6 separate regions of the Homo sapiens genome follow, and all the other regions are linked to region 4. The links are contacts of gene promoters, found by promoter capture Hi-C in human tissues and cell types (Jung and others, 2019). All regions are on one chromosome and are shown on one strand. Each heading gives the region's core, a stretch centred on a gene start or on the middle of the fragment in contact. The rest is flanking DNA. Distances are from core to core; before and after follow the strand shown.

Evidence for each region. Contacts are between HindIII fragments. The study calls those that stand out against the background at their distance.
Region 1: a contact is called between a fragment that was not itself captured here and the fragment with the promoter of HMGA2 in region 4, in 1 of the 25 tissues and cell types used here (aorta).
Region 2: a fragment that was not itself captured here is called in contact with the fragment with the promoter of HMGA2 in region 4 in 2 of the 25 tissues and cell types used here (IMR-90 fibroblasts and mesendoderm cells).
Region 3: a fragment that was not itself captured here is called in contact with the fragment with the promoter of HMGA2 in region 4 in 1 of the 25 tissues and cell types used here (IMR-90 fibroblasts).
Region 5: a contact is called between a fragment that was not itself captured here and the fragment with the promoter of HMGA2 in region 4, in 3 of the 25 tissues and cell types used here (IMR-90 fibroblasts, bladder and mesenchymal stem cells).
Region 6: a contact is called between a fragment that was not itself captured here and the fragment with the promoter of HMGA2 in region 4, in 1 of the 25 tissues and cell types used here (ovary).

Annotation. Positions count from the first base shown.
Region 1 is chr12:66,056,020-66,060,216 of GRCh38, forward strand. No RefSeq gene overlaps it. Among named protein-coding and RNA genes, the nearest start is that of LINC02425, 27 kb to the left of the region's middle. The HindIII fragment of the contact is 4,301 bases long and covers 1-4,073 here.
Region 2 is chr12:65,570,056-65,574,262 of GRCh38, forward strand. All of the region lies in intron 1 of MSRB3-AS1 (MSRB3 antisense RNA 1), which reads right to left. Among named protein-coding and RNA genes, the nearest start is that of LINC02454, 31 kb to the right of the region's middle. The HindIII fragment of the contact is 8,770 bases long and covers 1-4,207 here.
Region 3 is chr12:65,588,184-65,592,449 of GRCh38, forward strand. All of the region lies in intron 1 of MSRB3-AS1 (MSRB3 antisense RNA 1), which reads right to left. Among named protein-coding and RNA genes, the nearest start is that of LINC02454, 13 kb to the right of the region's middle. The HindIII fragment of the contact is 4,845 bases long and covers 1-4,266 here.
Region 4 is chr12:65,822,341-65,826,274 of GRCh38, forward strand. It overlaps HMGA2 (high mobility group AT-hook 2), which reads left to right and starts at 2,143. Exons shown (of 5, transcript NM_003483.6): 1 at 2,143-3,041. The coding sequence starts at 2,931. It also overlaps the pseudogene RPSAP52. RefSeq lists an enhancer at 3,263-3,870. The HindIII fragment of the contact is 9,780 bases long and covers 1-3,934 here.
Region 5 is chr12:65,618,588-65,622,724 of GRCh38, forward strand. All of the region lies in intron 1 of MSRB3-AS1 (MSRB3 antisense RNA 1), which reads right to left. LOC105369806 (a long non-coding RNA gene) reads left to right here and starts at 3,709. Exons shown (of 4, transcript XR_945028.3): 1 at 3,709-3,778. The HindIII fragment of the contact is 3,074 bases long and covers 517-3,590 here.
Region 6 is chr12:65,671,705-65,675,427 of GRCh38, forward strand. No RefSeq gene overlaps it. Among named protein-coding and RNA genes, the nearest start is that of MSRB3-AS1, 31 kb to the left of the region's middle. The HindIII fragment of the contact is 4,103 bases long and covers 1-3,723 here.

The DNA.
Region 1 (4,197 bases), core at 673-3,172, 230 kb after region 4:
TGAGGACAAGATGACACTTATCTCAATCAAAGAAGTACCAGTGGCAAATATGAGCTGTGGATAGACAGATCACTCAGCTCCCAACATATTTGAATTTGCTTTCATCACAGATCATTTTCAGTTCCCTTCCTAGACACTCCACCCACAGTCCTACCCAGAGAGCACAGTTGTTCGAAACTGTTTGCTAACACAGTGCTAGTCTGCCAAATACTGGTCCAGGATCTGACATTGCCAAATCTGCCTGCCTTTCTAAGAGGACCTGAGCAACCTATTTCTGAGAAAGCACCTGCTGAAGAAAGAAAGAAAAGCTTTAGCGCTAGATAAAAATAGATCAATATTACTGCTTGTCCTGAGAAGAAGTAAGGATGACTGTGTGACTTTTTTTCCCATGCTCTTCGAATTTTCCATAGTTAAAATGTAACTTTCACAATTGGAAAAAGTAACTTTTAAAAAGTAAATAAGGAAAGGTGTATCTTAAATTGGAGTGTCCTAGCATTAGAAATTATAGTATAGAGTCATTGTAATTGCTGCTGTTATCAGATATTCTTGTTTGTATTTTAAATTCAAACGCGTGTTAAATTCAATAATGTAGTCACTTTGAAAAAGGACCCTCAACAGAATACACACAGTTGCTTTTTTCTTGGATGACAAGATTTCAAGCATGAGAGAGATCGAAAATGGTTTTGTTTTCTTCCTTTTCCCTCCAAGTTTTCTAAAATAAGCATGAATAACTTTTATAAATTAGAAACATACCAATAAATGTTATTATTTGGAAAGAAGATTTTAGACTCGCTGAAGCCCACAGATATTTGGACTTTGCCCTAATTTATTTCTACTCTCCAAGATTTTGCAGGATTTCAGAGTGGTGGACAATTTCTTAAAATAACATTCAATAAATTCATTTGCTTTTATGATTTTATAATTAGATACCTTGTAAATATTGTTGATTTAAGTCTTTTTGGTGTTGGCATGAATTGAATTCAGGAAACTGTACAGTTAACACAATTCAATCTCATTTGGATATGGCCTTTTAAATGAGCAAGCATCAGATTGACAATGTAGGGTTTGTGAAAGTGTCTCATTACCTAGGATTATCATAATCCTGGAAATGACACATTTTTAAATTTGTAGATTCATTTTAAGACCACAGAGAAAGCTGAAAGAAGGATCCTATATTTATTGTGACCAAGTGTTCCTGGCCCACTATCTTTAATAGCCAAGACCACATTGCTCTATCCCCAGAGCTCTGTTCAGGAAGGTATAAAAGGTATGAACATTTAAGAGGGCCTGGTAAAATCTTCACCTTAACTGCTCAAAGTGTACCTCATTCTAGGGGTAAAACTTAGCAGCTTCCAACTAAAGGTGAGTGGCACATTTCTTAAAACAGATGTTGAAGTCAGTAAACTCAGTCTTTGTCTAACGTATCATCCTACTGGACCAAATAAGAGTTTAGGAAATTGAATTCGTTAAAACAAACAAACAAACAAACATGAAAAGGCAAACAAACATGAAAAGGCAAATGATAGAACTGGCCAGTTCCATTTCTAATGGCCTGAGTGGACTCATTCTAGAATTTTTTTTTTTTTTTTTTTTTTTTTTTTTTTTTTTTTTTTTTTTTTTTTTTTTTTTTTTTTTTTTTTTTTTTTTTTTTTTTTTTTTTTTTGAGACGGAGTCTCACTCTGTTGCCCAGACTGGAGTACAATGCTACAATCTTGGCTCACTGCAACCTCTGCCTCCCAGGTGCAAACAATTCTCCTGCCTCAGCCTCCCGAGTAGCTGGGATTACAGGTGCCCACCACGACGCACAGTTAATCTTTGTATTTTTAGTAGAGACAGGGTTTCACCATGTTGACCAGGCTGGTCTCAAACTCCTGACCTCATGATCCACCTGCCTCGGCCTCCCGAAGTGTTGGGATTACATGCATGAGCCACCGTGCCTGTCACATAGAATTTCTATGTTTCCACTTAATGACAATCTTTAACATTGAAAAACACAATTTAAGACATATAGTACTTTAAAATAATACTACTCAGAAAAAAGAGAAAGATGCACACATCAATCTGTTTTAACTTACAGGATCTGCATTTATAAGCCTAAAAGAAATTATACATTTTAAATACAACTCTGGATAATTGCCTTCTTCAATGGGTGCATCACTGAGAAGAAAGTTCTCTTAATACTTTATTCCATTAACAGCTTTTTCCACAAAGACTGGGTTGATCTTTAAAGATGTATTACTTTATTTTTTTATTTTTATTTTTTTTTTTTGAGACAGAGTCCCGCCGTGTCACCCAGGCTGGAGTGCAGTGGCGTGATCTTGGCTCACTGCAACTTCCGCCTCCCAGGTTCATGCCATTCTCCTGCCTCAGCCTCCCAAGTAGCTGGGACTACAGGCACCCGCCACCACACCTGGCTAATTTTTTTTGTATCTTTAGTAGAGACGGGTTTTCACCACACCATGTTAGCCAGGATGGTCTCGATCTCCTGACCTTGTGATCCGCCCGCCTCGGCCTCCCAAAGTGCTGGGATTACAGGCGTGAGCCACTGCGCCCAGCCAAGATGTATTACTTTAAGCAGCAAAGTTCAGCTCAGTGAATGGCCTACTGAAGGGCACACGAGCAAAGTGTTCAGCACTGAGACCCAGAGGCCACTGGTTTCTCTGCAAGGTTCTGTAATTACTGGTGAAGTCCTTGGGCCTGAGCTAGGCTGTCTGTGGTTTGCTTTGCATATACTGGGATGTGAATGGTAATGAAGCATATGGTTAAGGGCTGGCACTATTCTGCAGCCAGACTGCTTGTGTTCAAATACCCAGGTCCCCTACTTACTAGCTTGTGATCTTAAGTGGCCTATTTTAGTTATTTCTGCCTCTGTTGCCTTGCCTATGGATGAGGATAATATTAAAAATATCACTATATCATAAGGTTGTTGTAAGGTGTCAGTGAAGTTAATTCATGTAAAATTCTTCAGGCAATGCCTGATGCATAAAAAAGTGTAATGTAAGTATTAACTGTATTTATAAACGCAGTCAGTGTGAAGATACAAGTGAGAGAAAAATCAAGAAGGAAGTAAGAGCACTGCCGAAAATTGTCTTAGAAAAAATTACAAATGATATGAAAGTCATCTTAGAAAAAATTACAAATGATATGCATGGTTCTAAGTTATGAAGTCTCAGAGGGTTTGTTGGTTTTTTTTTTTTCTTCCTCTTCCATCTGGGTGAAAGTCTCCAAAAAATTTGAATAGAGACTTCTATATCATCATCCAAACTTTCCCATAAACAAAAAATAATCTCCCACAAGGCTGAGATAGAATTTTAAAGAAATAGCAGACACTTGTGAAACATGTTCCCCCATAAAAGTAATGACCAAAACTTGTTCTCAATTTCACGCAGAACCTATTGTGTTAAGAAGTGAATCACTGGGGGACTGAACATCAATTGCTTGCCCGTGTTCAAAATATTTTTTAATCACAGACCGCCAGTGGGAAATGGCACAGAAGAATAAGGAGGCTATCTAATGAATGGGAGGCACAATGGCAAGAGTCTAATTCAGCAGATTTTTCAAAGGCCTTTCCAACAGCTATTATAGCAGTCAAATGAAGGGGAAGGTAACAGCGGATTATTACCTTTCACTCAACACTTTTTCCTCTGCCAAGAATTTTTTAAATGTCACAGGAATATAATTCACATGCTTCACAGATTGTGAACAATTTTCTCTAAACCTTCAACCATGTATCCAGCAGCACCTAAACTCAATATAATCCGAGCACGACAGCAAATGGCCAACACACCATCTGTCCTGCCACTCCAACTCCCCAAGGTATAAATGAGAGGACTCCATGTGGCACTTGACCACAGAGGCAGAAAAACAAATGCTGCTGGGAGTGGTGTGATGTGAACATGCTGTAGCTCTGCCAAAACACGTGAAAAGCTGGGAGCCATAGCACAGAACGAGTGCAGTGGGAAACTCTTCTTGATGGTCATTTTATCAACTTGGCTGACTATAGAAAGGGAAAGATCCTCCTGAACATTGCAGCGCCAGTCATTCACGAGCTGTGAAAGCTTGCTGTATGCCAGGCACTGTGCTAAAAGCTTTACTGCAAGTATTATCTCATTTATCCTATAAACCCTATTTTACACTTAAGAAACTGAGGCACATGCAGGTTAAGTGTTTTACCCAATGTCTCCCATTAGCAATTGT
Region 2 (4,207 bases), core at 972-3,471, 250 kb before region 4:
AAGAGTCAAACACCTGGTGAGTAGATGAACCAGATGATCATAGATTATTTTTTAATTCCAAAGTTGTATGAATCCAAATTAAAATTTTTGTTTTCTGTTGTAGTTTTTAATCTTTTGTGTGTGTGACAGAGAATGTAAAATAGAATGCACATACAGAAAAGTACATAAACCAAGCTCCTGTGAAATGACCATTTAGGTCAAGAATAGAACATAGTCATCTCTGAAGTCTTTCCATGACCTTACCAATCACATGCCCCATATCCTGAATTTTATGGTTGTATTAGTCCATTCTCACATTGCTATAAAGATACTACGTGAGACTGGGTAATTTATAAAGGAAAGAGGTTTAATGGACTCACAGTTCAATGGCACAGTTCATGGCTGGGGAGGCCTCAGGAAACTTAAAATCATGGTGGATGGGGAAGCAAACATGTCCTTCTTCACAGGGCAGCAGGAGACAGAAAAATGGGCAAAGGAGGAACTTGCCAAACACGTAAAACCATCATATATCATGAGAACTCTCTCACTATCACAAGAACAGCATGGGGGAAACCACCCCCATGATTCAATTACCTCCACCTGGTCTCTCCCTTGACATGTGGGGATTACGGGGATTAAACTTCAAGATGAGATTGTGGGTAGGGAACACAGCCAAACCATATCAATGTTAAATATTTCTTTTCTTTTTAGATCTATCACTATGCAATATAGTTTAATTTGCATGTTTTAGAAAAAACCTTATATAAACAGAACCATATACTGTGTGTTTTGCTATTTTTGCTCTACCTTATGGTTCTAAGATTGACCCATGCTGTTAGACACAGTTGTCCTTCCTTCATTTTTGTGGCTAGACCCAGATAAGTTCTGCTGAATAAAGGCTTAAGCAAGTCCTGAGCCCCCTCGGCTGGTACTTCACTGGTAATTCAGCAGGACTGGTTATTCTGTGTCTAGGGTTCTGTTGCAGAGAACAGAATACTCTCTAGCTAATTTAGGCAGGTAGCGATTTACTATAGGTTTTTAAGTGGCATAAAGAATTTTTGGAAGGAGAGACAACACAGCCTATAGAGTGAGCTTTTGGTTACCTTCCTTTGCCCTGCCCAGTTACACACAGTACTGGAAACCAAGGGAGCTGCTGCCACTCTAGGATCAGGGCTCCTCAGGCTCCAGCACCACATTGCCACTGCCTTGATCACAAAGCCACTGCAATCAGAGAACCTCCTGATTAAAAGGTATCAGGATTATGAAGCCACTAATGCTACATACTCCAGAACCATTCTGTTCCTGACACAAACTGCACTAGCAAAAATGGATGTCCATTGCCTTTCTCCTAAATACCCATGCAAGGTACCTATGCTAGCAACCAAATCTCTGCTGACATTGCCAAGAAGACCAAACACCTTTATAACACACCTGCCAGCAGAAATGGCAAAAGCAATATGAGGATATTTGGTTTGCAAAGCCTAAATACATCTGGGACTTTAGCTGAAATGTGTGAGAAAAAGTAGTCTTCATTGCACATCACGGCAATGGCTTTCAAATTTGGGATCAGAACCCATCATTAGCAGATCATGAGAACATTAAAAGAAAGAAAATAGAACAGAATAGAAAATATCAGAAATCATGAACTCAGTAAGCACAAGTACTATTTTGTAGTACACATATGTGTATACTGGATTGCAATATCAGATGTTTTTCTTACTGTGGGTTGAGTTATTTAAAAAGTTTAAAAGCCACTGCACTAAAAGGAGGGTAGAATAGGTATTGAGTGCCAATCAACCATATTCACCACAATTTCTCTTATTGAACATAGAGTTCAACTGTTGAACATGTTCAACAATGAGACTCTTGGCAGATCTTGTCGGCTAGTGTCTTCTAACAATCTACTTTGGAGCATCTTAGTGGTCTGGATCTTCTTTACAGCCTGAACAATTCAGAAACACAAGACACAATGCTGGTAGCTTGGATCAAATCCTCTCCACAAATGCCTTAAATTCAGCTAAGATCACTTAAGCTCCAGAAAAGATAGGATTTAGAAGTCTGTGTGTTGCCAATAACTGGTAGAGTGCTCTGACTGAGGACACAGATGGTTGTGTCTACCTGCCTCCCTTTCGAAGTCATCCTCCACAAGTCCCTTTGTGAGCTTTTAAAAACACAAACCTGATTATTTCACTTTTGTTTTAAAGCATTTGAAATATTCTTTGGCTTATGGCAGTGATTCATAAACTTGAGATGTTTGTTAAAATACAGATTCCCAGATCCTCCTCAGGGATTCTAACTCAATAACTTCAGGATGAGTCCCAGGAATCTGTACTTTTAGTGGGAACCGCTAGTGAATAAAAACTGGACTACTAAGCATGATCAAAACAATTTGTCCCACACCGACCTGGCCCACCTACAATTTTCCATTCTGTTTCTCCCTCCCCATCACCAGTCTCTCTTCTCTTACCTTCTTGCCGCCCTCCCTCTTTCTCCCATCTCAAACATCCTTACTCTCCCCTCACTTCCACCCAAAGACAAATAACTCACCTTAAAGAACCTAGCTCCAATATTACCTCTTTAGGAAACCTTTTATATGCTAATAAAGCTTTTTTGATACTCCATATATTTAATAATGCATTATATTGTTGTAATCATATTAAATTGTAATTACTAGTTGACATGCCATTTTTCCCTACTAAAGCTAGGACTGTATTAGGTACAATTAGTGTATCTTATTTTTTTTTATTATTTTATTTTATTTTTTGTCTTGCTCTTTCCCCCAGGCTAGAGTGAAGTAGTGCCATCTCGGCTCACTGCAACCTCCACCCCCTGAGTTCAAGCGATTCTCCTGCCTCAGCTTCCTCCTGAGTAGCTGGAATTATAGGCATCTGCCACCATGCCTGGCTAATTTTTGTATTTTTAGTAGAGACGGGGTTTCACCATGTTGGCCAGGCTGGTCTTGAACTCCTGACCTCAGGTAATCCGCCTGCCTTGGCCTCCCAAAGTACTGGGATTGCAGGTGTGAGCCACCACGCCTGGACATCTTATTTTTTTTATATTTCCAGTGCCTGGCACATGGTAGATATATCAACAATTTTTGTTTAATGAATGAATGAGTGAATGAATTATATATGGTTGGATGGTTAGATGGATATAACTGCTTCTCTAAACTATGGAATTAAAAAAAATATATGGATCCGCAGTGGAGATTAGGACTGTTACAGCTGGAACAGCTGATCATAGTTGCCGATGCCTTTGGAAAACTAAGTGCATATGGGTTAAGTCCAGGTTCCATGAAATTCAATGTGAGCCATCAATAATGTTGAATGTGGAAGGTGGAGGTTTGATTGGGAGCTGAATATTGGCATAGTATCAAAGTATCTCCCTGCCAAATACTTATGAAGAGGGAAAACATTGAGTTTATGATGGAGAAACTTAGTAGATGTCAATTTGATCCAGTGAACAGCAACTTCACTATTGGAGGGAGAGATTGGCCTCATGTGTCTCTTGATGTGATAGCCCAAGTAAAGTACAGCATCAGAGCATTCCTGCAAAGTAGTAATGGCCTGATTCTGGACATGAGGAATCATCAGATAAACTTAGGTAGAGGAATATCTACAGAATGAAGAGATAGAAAGATTGAAGAACTGTTCCAGAATGAAGAAGATTTAAAAATCTATGACAATTAAATGCAATGCATGATCCTGGGTTGACTCCTGGACAAGAAAATAAAGAGATATTATTGGGACAGTTGGAAAAACTTGAGAGTGTTCTGTTAATTAGATAGCAGTGTTATATCAATGTTGATTTCTTAATTTGGAGGGTTGTAAGGTGGTTATGTAGGAGAATGTATTTGTTTTGGAGAAATATACACTGGAGGAATTGGGAGTGATTAATCATCAGGTCTGCAATTACTGCTTAAATGGTTTATAACAGAATAATGTAAATTTTGAGAGAGAGAGAGAGAGATGGAGGAAAGGGGTAAAATGTTAATAATTGGGAACTTTGGGTAAGGAGATATGGGAGTTTTTGTACATATCTTGCCAATTTTCTTTAAATTTCATTTAAAAATAAATGATTGACTTCTACTTGTAGCCAAGATGGAATAACAGGGATCAGATTCAGCTCTCTGACTCAAACAACTGCAAAGGTAGCTACAGTGTGTAGGACAGAGTAGTTGGGATACAGGAGTGAGTAACTCTGGAGATCCTCAGAGGATTCCCTTTGA
Region 3 (4,266 bases), core at 748-3,247, 230 kb before region 4:
AGTTCAGTTTGTGTCAGTGATTAGCTCAGCTGAAATTGGTTGGGAAAGGAGGAGAACACTGTTCAGCTTGATAAAAATAAAGTACATTCTTTCAATAAAGAGGGAGTGAACAGAAAGCAATTGACTGTGGAGAAGGCAGGTGACCTAACAACTACAGAAGAGAATTTAAAGTTTGGCATTGGAAGCCACTGACTTCCAATTCTAATGTGACATATTGAATTGTGTGACTTGGACATGCACACACATACATATACATGTGTACATGTTTATGTTTCTATACATATTTCTGCATGAATATGTAAATATATGTGTATTTATATTCATAATGCACTCTCAAGTTCAAAGACTCTGAGCCACATTAGTGTACAGTTTTATAATTTAAGATGATTTTGTTATCAAAAAATTGGAACTTCTACCTATTTAAAACTTATTTCTACTGTTTTAAGTGAAAATATTTAGTTGTAAACAGCAGACAGCCATTCTAAGGAAAAAAATTATTAAAAGGCCCCCACTTTTTTTTTGAGAAACAGTCTCACTCTGTCACGCAGGCTGGAGTGCAGTAGTACAATCATAGCTCGCTGCAGCCTCAAACTCCTGGGCTCAAGTGATCCCCCTTCCTCAGCCTCCCAAGTCGCTGGGACTACAAGCACACACCCCCACACCTGGCTAATTTTTAAATTTATTCTAGAGCTGGATCTCACTATGTTGCTTAGGCTGGTCTCAAACCCTTGGGCTCAGCCTCCCAAAGTGCTAGGATTACAGGCAAGAGCCACCATATCCGGCTCTTAAAAGGCTTTTGAGTAGCTCGTGGAATTGCCAGGTGCCTTAGAGAAGATTCTGAACTCTATAGCCAGGAACAATGCTCAGAATCAAATTGCAGAACCTTTCTGGTGAGGACATCATAGCTGCTTATGATCCCTAGATTCTATGGGCAGCTGCCACCACTACCAGAGTCTTCCTTGCAATGCGAGCTTCTTGCATCATGACTTCTAGATTCCAAGTATGCAAAGGTACATATTACTGGGGAACCTGGGCCACATGCTCGCGCCTAGCTCTAGAGAAATTTGGGAAACAATAAGTATGTATGCAGCATTTTTAGCTTCTGTACTAGTTGATAACATGAGCTTCCACCAAGAATCCTAAAGCGTGGAAGTCTTCAAATATGGGTAAGAAGTTCTGATGTTTATTGGACAACCAAAAAGAGTGACATTTGTGTACCATGACAGAGTAGTGCTAATAGATGCTAATTCCAAAGATAAGAGGCTGAGCCTGGCTTTCAGTCTTTAAGAAAGTATTTGAAAAACAGAGTCTATACAATGAATTCCTGATTTTAGGAAAAGCTGCACAGTCTCCCAGGAATACCCTGACAGATCAGAGCAGTAATAAAGCAACACAGCTCAGGCCTAAGGAGCAGATACTTCTAGAAAAGTTTCAACAACAGAAACCTGATTAAAAAAAAAAAAAAAGCATAGCCATTGATATAAAACATATGACACATATCTTAGTTGGACTCTCAAAACATTTCTCACTTCTCTACAACAAACAATGCTTCCAAAAATGGCCCATGCCCTGTCTCTAGGAGATGAATTGGATTCAACTCATCCCATTTCAGAGCACGTTTGATAGAGTTCATGTACCAAGCCCTTCCTGTGGGCTGAGGAACTTTCCGTGGGCTGAGGAACTTCTCAACTTCCACTGTTCCATAGTGGGGAAAAATTCATTTGGTAAGCTGTTAAAAACTCCTAGTCATTAAATGAAGTTTGCTCTGCCTTGGGTCAAAAATAAAAAGGCCTATTGCCTCTTAAATTACCATGTCTGAGGCCATTTGTAGTAGTTCCTTGCTATTCTTGAGGAGGAAAAAAAGGCACGATCCTCTGCAAAAATGGTAGTTATGCTCTTTTAGGAGCCACCTCCTTGACACAGGTGGGGAGGCTTAGTTGGGTGAGGGGTCCCAGCTAAGCAAACCTCTGGGAAGGCCCAGCCTGGGCATAGCCAGTGTGTCCTCATGCCAAGATCTTCCCAGAATGAGTCTTGGGAGGATTTAGGTCTCTGAGTGTGGAAAGCTGGGCAGGAGCCAGCACACCTTCTCCAGAGGCACAGAAACTTGGGGGCACAGTACCAAATAGCCATTCTTTCTTTACCTAGTCTCTAGTCACCCTTTGGAAAAAAGGTTTTAGTATTCATTTTAACATCCCACAATTGCAGAGTGGCCACCTGTCACCTCTCACCACAGATCCACAACCACAGTCCCCCCAGAGTCTCTGACAGAAGGTCCTGCTTGCAGAGGAAGCAATTCAACAGGCCTTTGGAAGGCAGCCGAGCAGCAGCAGGAGGCCTATTAAAACCACAATTTCAGAATCTCAGGGTGGGCATTTTCTTGTGGCGTATTAAGTAACACACCTACTCAAGTTACTGTGTGAACTCAGTGGACAGCTGCCCTTTCAGTGAGAAGCGTATGCTTGTACTGCGCTGTCCCTACCCCCACCACCCCCAAGTTCAATCACAGACCCTTCAGAGATGTTTGGCCTGAGAAGAGCAGTGGAAATGGAGTGAAGCTTGGATGAAGATGTCGAAGGCCAGGAGTCACCCCTTAATGAAGAGCTCCAAATGCCTGGGGGTTCACCCAAGGGCCAGAACCAGAGAACAGTTGCATTTACCCAAAATAGAGATAGACACAGGTAGAAGAATCTACTCGAAGTGGAAATGGCCTCTTTCTCATATTCGCCCTTGAAAAAATATGGGAGGAAGAACGGGAAATGGTGGTTCCGAGAATTGATTCTCAAGTCAGAATCATGTGCACTCAAATCACTTAAAGAATTGGCATGACCTTGAACAAATCTTGCTTACTCTCTGTTAAGTTTTGTTTTTCTCTATCATGATAAGAAATACCATGGTCGTGAGAAATAAATGAGATATTAAATGTAAAACAGGCCAGGCGCAGTGGCTCACACCCGTAATCCCAACACTTTGGGAGGCAGAGGTGGGCAGATCACCTAAGGTCGGGAGTTCGAGATCAGCCTGGCCAACATGGTGAAACCCTGTCTCTACTAAAAATACAAAAAAGTAGCTGGGCGTGGTGGCGTGCTCCTATACCCCAGCTACTCGGAAGGCTGAGGCACGAGAATTGCTTGAATCGGGGAGGCGGAGGTTGCAGTAAACTAAGATCACGCCACTGCACTCTAGCCTGGGCAACAGAGTGAGACTCTGTCTCAAAAAATAAAAAAATAAATAAATAAAATAAAATAAATGTAAAACAGGTGATACCTATAAAGCACATACTTTATGTATCAGTTATTTTAATGTTTTCATAGATAGTGGTTAAACTGGTGTGGTTACTATGTCCCTCTTTCCTCCACTTGGTAAATAAGATATATTTTCCTTTAAGGTAGGGTGATGTACTGTTTGTATTTAATGTTTTTATTTCATAGTGTGTTTCTATTTAATGAAAAACTTAAAGGAAAACTTCACTGTGTGCCACCTGCTTTGTGCATTGTAAAATGGATGCTGTCTTCATAGAATTTCTTCCTGAAAGGGATTCTGATGGAACTAAACAAGAAGAATTCTATGTGAGAGGGAAAATTCAGAACCCGAAAAGGAAACCCAAAAAAGAAGTTAAGAGAGGGAAGTGTGTGGAAATACCATTTACTAATACACTCCTTTCACTCCCCTATAGACTGAGTAATATAACATTGACCAATATAGAGCGTCATGGAAATGCTCATGCATAATGGAAGTAATGGTCAGACTTGAACAGAGCTTAACTTTGCTTTCATTGGGCATCCGCTTCACAGCATTGAGGCCAGCTTTCTGCAGTGAAGGAGAAGGGCATGAAATATAGATTGCCAGGCCTCTGGGGACTCTGAGGAATGAGAGGTACTAAATAAGGATGAAATTCATCCTGGTCTTATTACACTGCCCTCTTCCATCTCTCATATCATGAAGTAAGTTTGGCAAGAGAGTAGAAGAAAGAGAGAATCAGCTTAAATAATAGGGAAGGAAATCTGTTCCTGGGCAATTTTTTTGGCAAGTTTGACAATAAATAAAGAGTGAGATAATGAGACTAGCTCAGTAATTCTCTGACTTTCTCATCCTTTATCCCTTCAGAGAGCCTGTTTGGTCTCTCCCACTAACGGGAGAGCTGTAGGAATAGCTTTCCTCTGTTTTGCTTCAGAAGGAAAATATGCTAAGGGAGACAAGAACAGACCTAGGAGGCACAGAAAGTGAACATGAAGAAAGGGTGGTGTCAAAGAAAAAGGGGCCTTTGGC
Region 4 (3,934 bases), core at 893-3,392:
ATACAGCTTCCAAAGAATGAAAATATATAAAATTGATTTAAGTAGAACTTGATACAATATTTGTTTTATACCCTTGTTATAAATTCAAAAGGGGTCAAATAGTCTAATAGCAAAATGATAGCAGCCTGAAAACAAGTGGCTGTATATTCCCCCACCCCCAATTTTTCTGTGCTTCTCTTATATTCAAAGATTAACGCAAAAACAAAATTTTGGAATCTGCTCTTTGCTGACCTCTGTACACGTTACCAAAAAAAAAAAAATCCTAGGATATAATGAGGTATACAGCACAAAACTGGCTGGCTGAACTCCTCAGTGACTCCCCTGCATTCACCTTCAGAATTTCTCTCTACTCCTGGCAAAAAGTGAGCAAACAACACAAACCCAAAAACCTATTTTGTACGTGTATGTGAAATGTGCACACCACAGTGCAAATATGTGATAGTTTTTAAATGTGCACGATTGGCAGTTAGGAAATGTCACTGTAATCGTTAGGTGAAACTTCAATCCCTTTGATGAAGATACCATCTTTGAGCCAAGCCCTGACAGAAAACCTTTGGTTCCTGTTAGACCCCTCCCTCCCCAGTCAGCTGCTGGGCTCCATCCGGAGGGATGGAGGCTCTCTCTCTCCATTACAGCTAAGCGTTCCCAGACCCAGCAGAAACCCTGGGTTCCTGCAGAGCACTCAACGTGCAGCAAAGTGTCCCAGCTCTGCAAAGGGCAGCTGGAAATGGATTTAAAATGGCAACGCGGACCAATCAGCGCTGCCGCGCCAAAGCAGACATTTACACGCGCCTCCTCCACATGCACAGCGGAACCTGGCGGTGCCTAACTCCTGCTTAGGGCTGCAAAGTAGGCGTTTTTATTCCACGGTGGTCTGTATCTTTGAAAAAAATAAATTCTTCCCCAGGTGAAAGTTTTTATTTTGGAATTAGTCCAAAATAATTTTGGGTGTGATGTGTGAAAATCTGAACCTAATTTTTTCAGAGTTTTGTGTTATTCAAGGATGAAAAGAGGTACATTTAAAAATGTACTCCACCTTTTAAAAACGGACTGTGGCCATTATGGTGTTCACATAACTCAGAACAGCCCAGGCCATAAAATTAGGACTTGGCAGAAAGAGAGTTCTCAGGCAGAAGGTTAAATCGAGGTAAACTGAAGGGAGAGTTGGGCAGTGAGTGCAATTGTGGTGTTAGGAATCTACAAGGTGCCCTTTACCCTGGGAACATCGGATTCCCGGGGAGGGGGATGGGGAGGGAACTTCGGTTGCCTCTAGTCTTTCCTGGAGAAAAAAGTTCAATGAAGAAGCTGGGGCGCTCTGTGTGTGCACATTGTTTGCATGTGTCTGCGAATGTGCATGTCTATCTGCGTGCCTGTGTGTATGTGTGTGTGTGTAAATGCGGGTGTTTACCAGCGCATGAATGCCCCCGTGTCCACGTGTATCTGCGTGCATGTGCTTACACGCGTGTTCGTGTGTATCTGCATGCATGTCTCCGTGTATGTGCGCGCTCGCCCGCCCGCAGGCTCTGTGGTGAGGGCATTCCGAGGCGGAGTACGGCTGTCAGGGGACCTCTCCCACTCCACTGCAGTCCCTTCCCACTCACAGTGAACCGGTGCGCTGCCTGAGGTGCAGCCTAGACGCTTCCTGCAAAGTGTTGGCTCGGCACGGTAGAGGCGCAGGTAAAGGCCAAGCCCCGAAACGTGGCTCCGGGACAGTCACGTTCCCGCGCCTTCCCAGGACAACTGCCCAGGGGTGACCTCGAGAGGCGGGTGGAGCTAGGCCCACGGCGAGCCAGCCCGGGATCCCCGGCCTGTCCCTTTAACCCCGCCGCCGGGCGGGAGCACGTGAGCGGGGCTCCGGGTGGCACCCGGGCGCCGCCGCCGCCGAGGCAGTTGTATTTCGAACGCTGCCTCTGGCTAGCAGCCAGGCGCCTTGGCTCGGCGGTCCGCCTGGCCTCCCTCCTCCTCATACTTTTCTTCCTGCGCAACCCCCTCCCCTTTATCCGCCCACGATTAGAGGTGGGCACTCCCCCCACCACCACCCCCTCCCCAAGCGCAAGCGCGTGCACGCACACACACCACACACACTCACACTCACACACACTCACACACACTCATCCCACTTGAATCTTGGGGCAGGAACTCAGAAAACTTCCAGCCCGGGCAGCGCGCGCTTGGTGCAAGACTCAGGAGCTAGCAGCCCGTCCCCCTCCGACTCTCCGGTGCCGCCGCTGCCTGCTCCCGCCACCCTAGGAGGCGCGGTGCCACCCACTACTCTGTCCTCTGCCTGTGCTCCGTGCCCGACCCTATCCCGGCGGAGTCTCCCCATCCTCCTTTGCTTTCCGACTGCCCAAGGCACTTTCAATCTCAATCTCTTCTCTCTCTCTCTCTCTCTCTCTCTCTCTCTCTCTCTCTCTCTCTCTCTCTCTCTCGCAGGGTGGGGGGAAGAGGAGGAGGAATTCTTTCCCCGCCTAACATTTCAAGGGACACAATTCACTCCAAGTCTCTTCCCTTTCCAAGCCGCTTCCGAAGTGCTCCCGGTGCCCGCAACTCCTGATCCCAACCCGCGAGAGGAGCCTCTGCGACCTCAAAGCCTCTCTTCCTTCTCCCTCGCTTCCCTCCTCCTCTTGCTACCTCCACCTCCACCGCCACCTCCACCTCCGGCACCCACCCACCGCCGCCGCCGCCACCGGCAGCGCCTCCTCCTCTCCTCCTCCTCCTCCCCTCTTCTCTTTTTGGCAGCCGCTGGACGTCCGGTGTTGATGGTGGCAGCGGCGGCAGCCTAAGCAACAGCAGCCCTCGCAGCCCGCCAGCTCGCGCTCGCCCCGCCGGCGTCCCCAGCCCTATCACCTCATCTCCCGAAAGGTGCTGGGCAGCTCCGGGGCGGTCGAGGCGAAGCGGCTGCAGCGGCGGTAGCGGCGGCGGGAGGCAGGATGAGCGCACGCGGTGAGGGCGCGGGGCAGCCGTCCACTTCAGCCCAGGGACAACCTGCCGCCCCAGCGCCTCAGAAGAGAGGACGCGGCCGCCCCAGGAAGCAGCAGCAAGTCAGTACGAGGGCGCGGTGGGGGCACCAGCCCACCCCGTCCCCACTGCCGGGGCCCAGACACGCGCGGGGCGGCCGGAGTGCGGGAGCCCAGTCGCCGCGGCCGTCGCACACTGCCCGCCGGCCGGCCGGGGGGAGCGGCGCAGACCCCACGAGTGCGCCGCGCGGCCCCGGGGCGCCAGCAACCCTCCGGGCGGGGAGGTGGGGAGCCGCGGCGGGCGGCCCGGGGAAGGCGGGAGGTGGGGTCGGGCGAAGCGCGTCCTCGGACTTTCGCTATTGTGCACGGCCCCGAGTGGCGCGGTGTCGCCCAGTGACTGGAAGCGACCGGGATCCGACAAACCCGGGCTCGCAGGCGCTTTCCGAGTTGCTTTTGCAACTGCCCGGGAGGAAGGAGGTGCCGGGGACCCGGGCGCTTCGGCCGATCTGGGCTGAAGGGGCTAGAGTCTTGGGGGCCGGAGGCTCTTTCTCCCGCCTCCCGGGGCTGCTCGCGGGTCGGGGGCTGGCGCGCCGCAGCCGCCCCCTTGGCGCCCTCCTCCAAGCTCTCGGTGGCCCAAGACTCGCGCCCTCCCGACAAAGAACGCATGGAGACCCGGCTGCCTGGTCCTTTTTGGGCTCTTTAAATATGCGGCGGCCGCCGGAGGGAGCCCGGGGCAGGGGCTACGGGGAGCCTGGTTCCCCGCAGGACGGGGTTAACTCGCCCAGCTAAGGGCGCGTTGAAAGGAGTGTCCAAGAGAGTGCAGGGTAGCCAGGGTCGCTTCCTTGTCAGGGGCCCGGTCCCCCTTTTGCCCCTGGATCTCGCGCCTCAGAGCTGCAGCCATTAAATGCTCTTCTCCAAGGCCAGTGGCCGGGGGTTGAGTAGGGGACGATCGAGGGGCGCCCGGGACCCTGCGGAGT
Region 5 (4,137 bases), core at 804-3,303, 200 kb before region 4:
AAATTACAAGGCTAATTAGTTTTCTACTTTAGTATTTTTACATTATTTAATGCATTTATAAGTGATCCAACAATTTTAAGAATTTTACTACATAAAAAGCATTTTGTAATAAAATGTGAAAATGAAAGAATGAATAAGACATGGTTCTCGCTTCACTCATTTTCTACTTTCACGCTTCATGGAACAATTTTAAGTGTCTACTATGAGCAAACCCTTTTCCTGAATGTTGCAGGCAATAGAAAGGAAAAATAAGACTTGTTTCTTCCCTCTAAAAGCTTGAAATGTCATGGCAAAAACATATGCACAAAATAACTTTAATGTAAGACAGACTTTGGTAAGTAAGTGCTAAAATAATAGAGGTACAAAGTGCTTGGGGAGTATAAGAAATGGAGGGATTAAGACTGATGGGGAGAGGATCAAGAAAGGCTTCTCGGAGGAGGAAGGGTTTGAGCTTGGCCTTGAGAGATGGCTGGAAATTTAACAGGAGGCTCTGGGCGGGGGAGGAGAAGAGAAAGGGGTTGTATGGTCTCTGGGTTGCAGGGTTGTTCTATAGCGGGGTTTTGGTGTTTCTCTGGACAATTTTCAACTGTCACATGGAAGAGATGTGTCACACAGAAAATACACAGAGCAACTAGAAACTGGTCTGAAAATACAGCCACGTGACTTCAGTGAAGAAACATATCAGGCCTGAAGTGTGGGCAACAACAGTGACAGGTATAATTAGACATTGAGCAGATCAGTGTTTTTTGATTAATAAGCTTGTTCTTCCTATACATTAACTCATGGGCCTGAAAGGAACTTCAGGAAGTTACTTAGGTCACCCCTGACTATGTTTTTTTTTTTAATTATTATTATTCTTCCCTTAGCCTCAGCCCTATAATATGAGCTCTTCAAATGCTCAGACCCTTGGGCTCTGCATGAGGACCAATACAACTAATAAAATATAGTAGTGGCAGCAGTTGAAGCCGCCTTGTGATACCACTATTTTGTAGCCATATTAATAATATTGTGTGAGAATTGAGGCAAGGGTTTTGTGAGTCTTTCAGGGCTGCCCTTCTTTTAATAAGCCCCTGACAAGTTACAGCTTCTGCTTGGGGTAAAAGCTGATCACAGGACTTATGCACAATGGCTTCCACCGCCTTGCCTTAACAATTTATCCCTATCTAGCTACCAATTAGAAGCCTAAAGTTATAGAATGCTAGCGCTGGAGTAGTTATTAGGATTAATCTAACCCAAGCCCTTTGTTTTTCATTTTACAATGGAGGAAAGAGAATCTTAGGGGAAGTGATATGCCTAAAGTCACACAGTTAATGATTGGCTTACCTGAACTAGAACTAGAATGTAAATCTCTAAGTTTCCTAACTTTCAAATCAGTTTCTCTCTCCTGCAGCACACTGCCTTTTTTATTTGCATCAACAGTGTATGTGTGTATGTGCATTAATATTTCTAAGAGTTTGGCTTAAAGCATTCAGTAGGTGCCCATAGAATAATGTATGTTAAGCCAGAGAAGTAAAATGCATTGGATCAAAACATTCTCACTTGGAAAAAACATTAGAATCCTGGGAATTTCTTGAAATGCAAGAAAGCTCAGCCTCCAGGACTTGCAGTGTAAACACTGTGGCTAATTTGTTGAAGTGAGATGCCATTGATGATTCTCCCTGCCTTGAGAGATGACAGGGCTCCTTCGCAGAAAAAGCTGATTGCTGTAGCAGATTGCTAGGGGAAGGCACATTGCAAAAAGTGATCAGGAAAAGACAAGACATGTTACCAAGACAGATCATTTTTCTTGAAGAGGAGTTAAAAAAAGACACTAAAAAGGAATTCCTCCCATAAAGTTTGTCTTTCAGAGAGCAACCATTTCTACAACTCCGTTCCTGCCTAAAGAAGCAGGCTGTAACCTGGAGCAAAGCTTGGAGAGGCTAGTACATCAGTTTTACAGAAGCAGTTCTAAGAATAGTGAATATGGATAATACAGACAGCAACCCAGACACTTGATCCATGCGTTTGCTACGTAAAAGTTGGATGAGAATAACTTTCAACAAATTTACTTTCCAGTGACTTGTTATTTTTTAAATTGTATTCTTATTAATAAAAATGATACTTTGATACTGGGTATGTAACCAAAGGAAAATAAATCATTCTACCAAGAAGACACATACCCTTGTATGTTTATCACTGCACTATCCACAATAACAAAGACATTGGAATCAACCCAGGTGCCCATCACCGGTAGATTGGATTAAGAAAATGTGGCACATATACACCATGAAATGCTACAAAGCCATACAAAAAGAATGAAATCATGTCCTTTTCAGCAACGTGGATGCAGTTGGAGACCATAGTACTAAGTGAATTCACGAAGGAATAGAAAGCCAAATACCACATGTTCTCACTTACATTAGGAGCTAAACATTGAGAACATATGGACATAAAATGGGAGCGATAGACACTAGGGACTACTGGGAGGGGGGCATGGGTTGAAAAACTACCTATCAGGCACTATGTTCACTACCTTGGTGATGGGGGCTGTACTCCAAACCTCAGCATGGTGCAATATTCACATGTAACAAACCTGCATGTGTACCCCCTGTATCTAAAATATAAACTGAAATTAGAAAAAAAACAGAAGCCAACACCATGAGGTTTTCAGCTCCCCCATAATCTCCATAACCCTCTTTAGTCCTAAATAAACATAAATGTAAGTAAAAATAAATAAATAAAAAATAAAGATGACACTGTTTCTCCACTTATTTTCTTATCAAAGAAAAATGGCCACAAGCCATTCTGTAGAATAAGCTGCCTTATAAGAGTTTTATCCTTTTGACGTGATTTGATTTGAGGCTGTCCTTCTTTTCATTTGCTTTTAAATTCTATGTACAATAGAATAATTCAATTCCATGGGATATTTTTAAAATTCTTGTTTCCATCCATCAGTGAGTACTTTTCTTCTATTGCTATGAGATAATTTTTATTCTAATTCTACATGAAAATGGCAAATCAGATGTTAGAGCAGAAAGCTACCTTAGCAACCATCTGCTGCGATGTCCTCATGTTCTAGATGTAGGAATGTCCAGGGATTTCTTGATTTTTGGTGGCTCACCCAGGGGAAGACAGGGCATAAAATCTAGCTAGGACACACTTTCTGCTCCTACTCCTGTGCTCTTTCACTGCCAGACATTTCACCTTCATTAGAACAGCGCCTTAAATCATGTTTGTCTTAGGAAATATACCTCACTTTTCATATTTTAATGTGCTCACTTTCAAGGAAGCTTTAGAAAAACCATGAAATGCCTTTTATTTTTAACTTTAATTTTAATGAAAGGTGAAATTTTCTTTCTATATTAAATTCCAGGTAGGAGAGTTACTATTAATAAGTTAGTTATGTTTATTTGTGGCTACATTAGTCAGATTTGGGCTATACTAATTCTGGGTAGCAAACAACTATGAAATCTTAGTGGGTTCAACAATAAAGTTTCACTTTTTGGCTAAGGATCTGTGCATTGGCAGGCTCTAGGTGAGTTCAGGTTTGCTCTACCTAATTTCTCACTCTGGTAGCTGACTGGGACTTGCTTGTTTCATGGCAGATGGCAAATGCCCAAGAGCGCAAACCGGACCATGCAAGTGCCATGAAGCCTCTGTTCAGAACACATCTGCTCACATCCCATTGGCCAGAAAAAGTCACATGGCAAAGCCCAACGGCAGAGATGAATGCCTTGTCCGCTGTACAGAAGCACTGCAGTTATATGACAAGGCGTGTGGATGCAAATGCTTTTATAGGGTGAGCACGGAGAATTGAGCCTAGTATTCCAACCTACTACTTGTGAAAATTAAAATAGAAAGAAATTGTTACTTTTCTCTAAAATTGGAAATTAAACTATTGAATTCTCCAAGATGCCTAGATTAAGACAAAGCTTTATTTAAAATTTAATTTTCTGAATGCCTTTGGTTTTCTTGTATAATCTAGTACAGTTTAGGTTATTTAGATACTCAGTAAATACTTGAGGGATTCATAAATGCTGTGTCCACTAAGTAACTACTCCTTTTGTAACATTAGTTCATTCATCCATTAAGGACTATTTATTGAGTGCTACTATGTGCCAGGCACTACAGTATTTATAAGTGAGGGAAACACATCAA
Region 6 (3,723 bases), core at 541-3,040, 150 kb before region 4:
CTCAAATTGATCCATTAAGAATGAATTCTGGGACTTTGGTGAGAATCACCAGGAAGAAACATAGAGTTTTCCTCTCAACTTGCATCTGGGAATATGTGTCCCTGGAGTCCGAAGTTAAAAGAAGGAAAGGCAAAACTAGGCATCAAGGATCTCGATAACAACACTCAAGTCCCTAAATCAAGTCACACTTGAAGTTAGCCTACTCCTAAGCTTTTCAATTGCCTGAACAAATAAATTTCTCTTGTTGCTTAAGCAAGATTGAATTAGATTTTTTTTTCCTGTCACTTAAAGCCACTGCCAACATGGCGAAGCCCTGTCTCTACTAAAAATACAAAAATTAGCTGGGTGTGGTGGCGGGTGCCTGTAATCCCAGCTACTCAGGGAGGCTGAAGGATGAGAATTGCTTGAACGCTTGAACTCGGGAGGCAGAGGTTGCAGTGAGCCAAGATCGCGCCACTGCACTCCAGCCTGGACAACAGAGTAAGACTCCATCTCAAAAAATAAAATAAAAATAAAATAAAAAAAGAAAATTATCATTTTAATTATTTAGCTGCCTGGTGGAGATGATGTGGTGGATGGGGCAGATAAACATTCTGAGCTGAGGTTGTATGCCAGGGACATTTGGATTTTATTTCATGAAAGTGTAAATTATTTCATCCTTTGGCCAGAATGCCATCACTACCATGGAATTTGTACCATGCCACAAAGTTCCATGGAGGGTAGGAGTGGGCAGGAATCCGATGTTTTCCTTCAAGAAGATAGGGCAACCCGACCAATCTCCAGAAAATACATTGATTGTGGGGAGTGGGGGATGAAAAGAATTGGAGGAAGGAATAGGAAGGTCCCTAGGTGATGTTGGGCAAAGCTACTGGAGGCAGCTAACCTGCGTAAGTGAAAGGACAATGGGGCCATTTAGGGCGGAGACTGGGGCAAGAGAGAGCTGGTCAGGAATGCAGGGAAGTGGCAGGGGAAAGAACACTTTCCAGATTGCATTCCCTAGAGGTTCTCCTTCCTTGAGTTATCCTGGACTTTCTTCACAAAAATAGGAATTAGTATCTGGTGGAAGTGATTATATTTGCCTAAGGCTGTGCTATACTAAAATAATATAGGGTGAAGATTTCATAATATTCCCACTTCAGTCATCACCTCACAACTTTACATTTCAATGTCTGACCTTGGGACAGCCCCTTCCAGTATCACATTAAGAATATTTAAAAGAAACAGGGAAGCCCACCAGTAAGTTAGCATCTCCAAAAGAATAGTAGTTGTCAGCCCAGGAGGTTCTATATTTTCAGCGGCAATTTAACACCTTGTCTAAAATTTTCAAGCACTTGAAAAATTCTTGTTTTACTCTTTACCAAGGTTTCACTAATTCTTTCCCCTTAACAGATTAAAAAAATGGCTTATAGGTTGGAAGATTCCTTTTGCATTATGTTAATAAAATAACACTTGACATGTTTAATACTAATTATATCAATGGGTTGAAGTAATAAGTGAAATAAAACCCAGTGAAACTTGTTTTTAAAAACATAAATAAGTAAATGAAGAGCCTACAAAGATATTAATGGTTTCCTTGGTCTTAAATTTTCAAGTGTTATTCAAAGCTCTTTGGGGACTGTAACCATGGAAGCCTATAGAGTTACTGTTACTTGTATTTGGCAAGATTCTCCATGTCAATTGTACAGTAAAGGCTCAACAAGAAAGAGAAATCCAAGGGAAAAAAATTGGCAGAAACAGAAGCAAATTATCCTGGTTTCATGTACAGGCTTTATGTACATGACTCAGAGAGGTATGAGGGACAGCCATCACACTGAATAAATATAAGAGGTGAGTTTTTGGAAGAAATTCAGATTATTTTTTATTTAAGGGAGTTAACTCAATTTAGCTTGAAAGAGTATTTATGTACATTAAAAGATCAGATATATGATCATGTTTTAGGAAAAATTTAAAGATTCTAAATATGGCATTACTTATAAGTATATAGTATGTGTGTTCATACCTACAAACATATCTGAAATTCTGATGAAGAAAATGTGGTTTATACTTTTAACATCAGTTCTAAAATTCACTTAGGAAAGTTCTTAGGAACTCCTAGAGATAAAAACATTAATAAATAAAGCCTAATTTTCATGAATGCTTATACTCAAGGGCTATTCAGCCTGAATTACACAACACATTTTGAGCTTTGTAACTCTTAGAGTGCATATAATTTTTAATTGACTTTTCCTTGGCAATGTCAGTATGTTTGTATTATATTCATGGGACTCCCTCTGGTGTATAACTTAACACATGAAAATTCTTGTTTTACTCTTTACCAGGGTTTTCTTGCAGCCTGATGGATAAGGTGTCTAATTATGAAGTACTGTGGAAAGCTCTGGATCAAATCATATGTTTTTATTGAAAATGAGGTCATGTTGGGTTGTGTGATATAACTAAATAATCAGTTAACCATTTATCCAAGCCAAACACAGAGTAATTAGGTTTGGTAAGATGGCTTCCTCCTTAAGATCCATAACTCAGGCCTGGTGGTTTGGGAACAATATGGATAGAAATTGTGTATGTTTTTCTTGGACATTTCAGTGATGGTATTTTCTAACTAAACTGTTTTTTAGATAGAATTTAATTTTACATTCATTTTTACTTTATGTGGCATTTGCTAAAAGAACATTTGCTAAATAATTATCTAAAATTATGTGGTCCCAAAATTTATTACTCAAGTAATAGAAGTCACAGGTAAACAACGACTTGGGAATTTCTGGATAATAATTTAAACAGTGATACCTTTAATCATCCATTATAATATTTTTGATAGTAGATTTTTAGATAGATCATGGAAGTATACATTTCAAATATATTGTTACATTTCCCCCAAAAAACATTGAAATGCTCTAGTTTTAATACTCTGCCAGTTCCAAATGCTTGTGATTCTTGTGTACTTATGTCTAGTGCTTGCATTTTATGCTGATGGAAAATGACACAGATGCTATATTTAAGTTCATTTGTTTGAATTTTGTCAAAACAACAAACTTAGATCAGTCAAAAGCTTTACATCCAAATAATGTGTAATTTTTAACTTTTTAAGGTGGGTACTTTGGCATAAATTCTTAAAATATAAGATTATTACACTAAAGAATTAGTATTCTCTTGTTTCTCTTCTTGGGATTATAACTGTACCTTCTATGAAGATACTGAAATTTGCTGTGTATTTCATAGCAAATATGGTGGATGACCATGAAAAACTGTTTTATAATTTAGCTTAGGCCTACTAGATAGTTTTTACATTCAACATTTATGCCTCAAAGGAGTATTGTAGTGTACCATTGTAGAATTTCCATATTCATCCTAGGTTTACTACTGATATGACTTCAAAAATGTGATATTGTCAAAACTGTGCCAGCTGTGAAATTAAAATTGGGCATCCATGAACAGCTGTATTGAATAGCTTGACATCTGTGAAATCAAAAGTGTATTTCGAATTCAACTTTCAAACCACAGAATTCAAGTAAGCAAAAACTGACCATGTGTTAAAAACACTTGAAACTCTTCCTCTTGTAACTGTTTATCTACATTTTAAAAACTCTGTTTACATTGTAGTAACAGCTGTGTTTAAAAGGGACATGACAGAGCAGACTAATTTATAATGCAAAACTCTATTCTAAAAAAAAACTTCTGTTTGAAAAAACACTTCAAAAGAGGGCAAAAATGATTAAAATAGACACAACC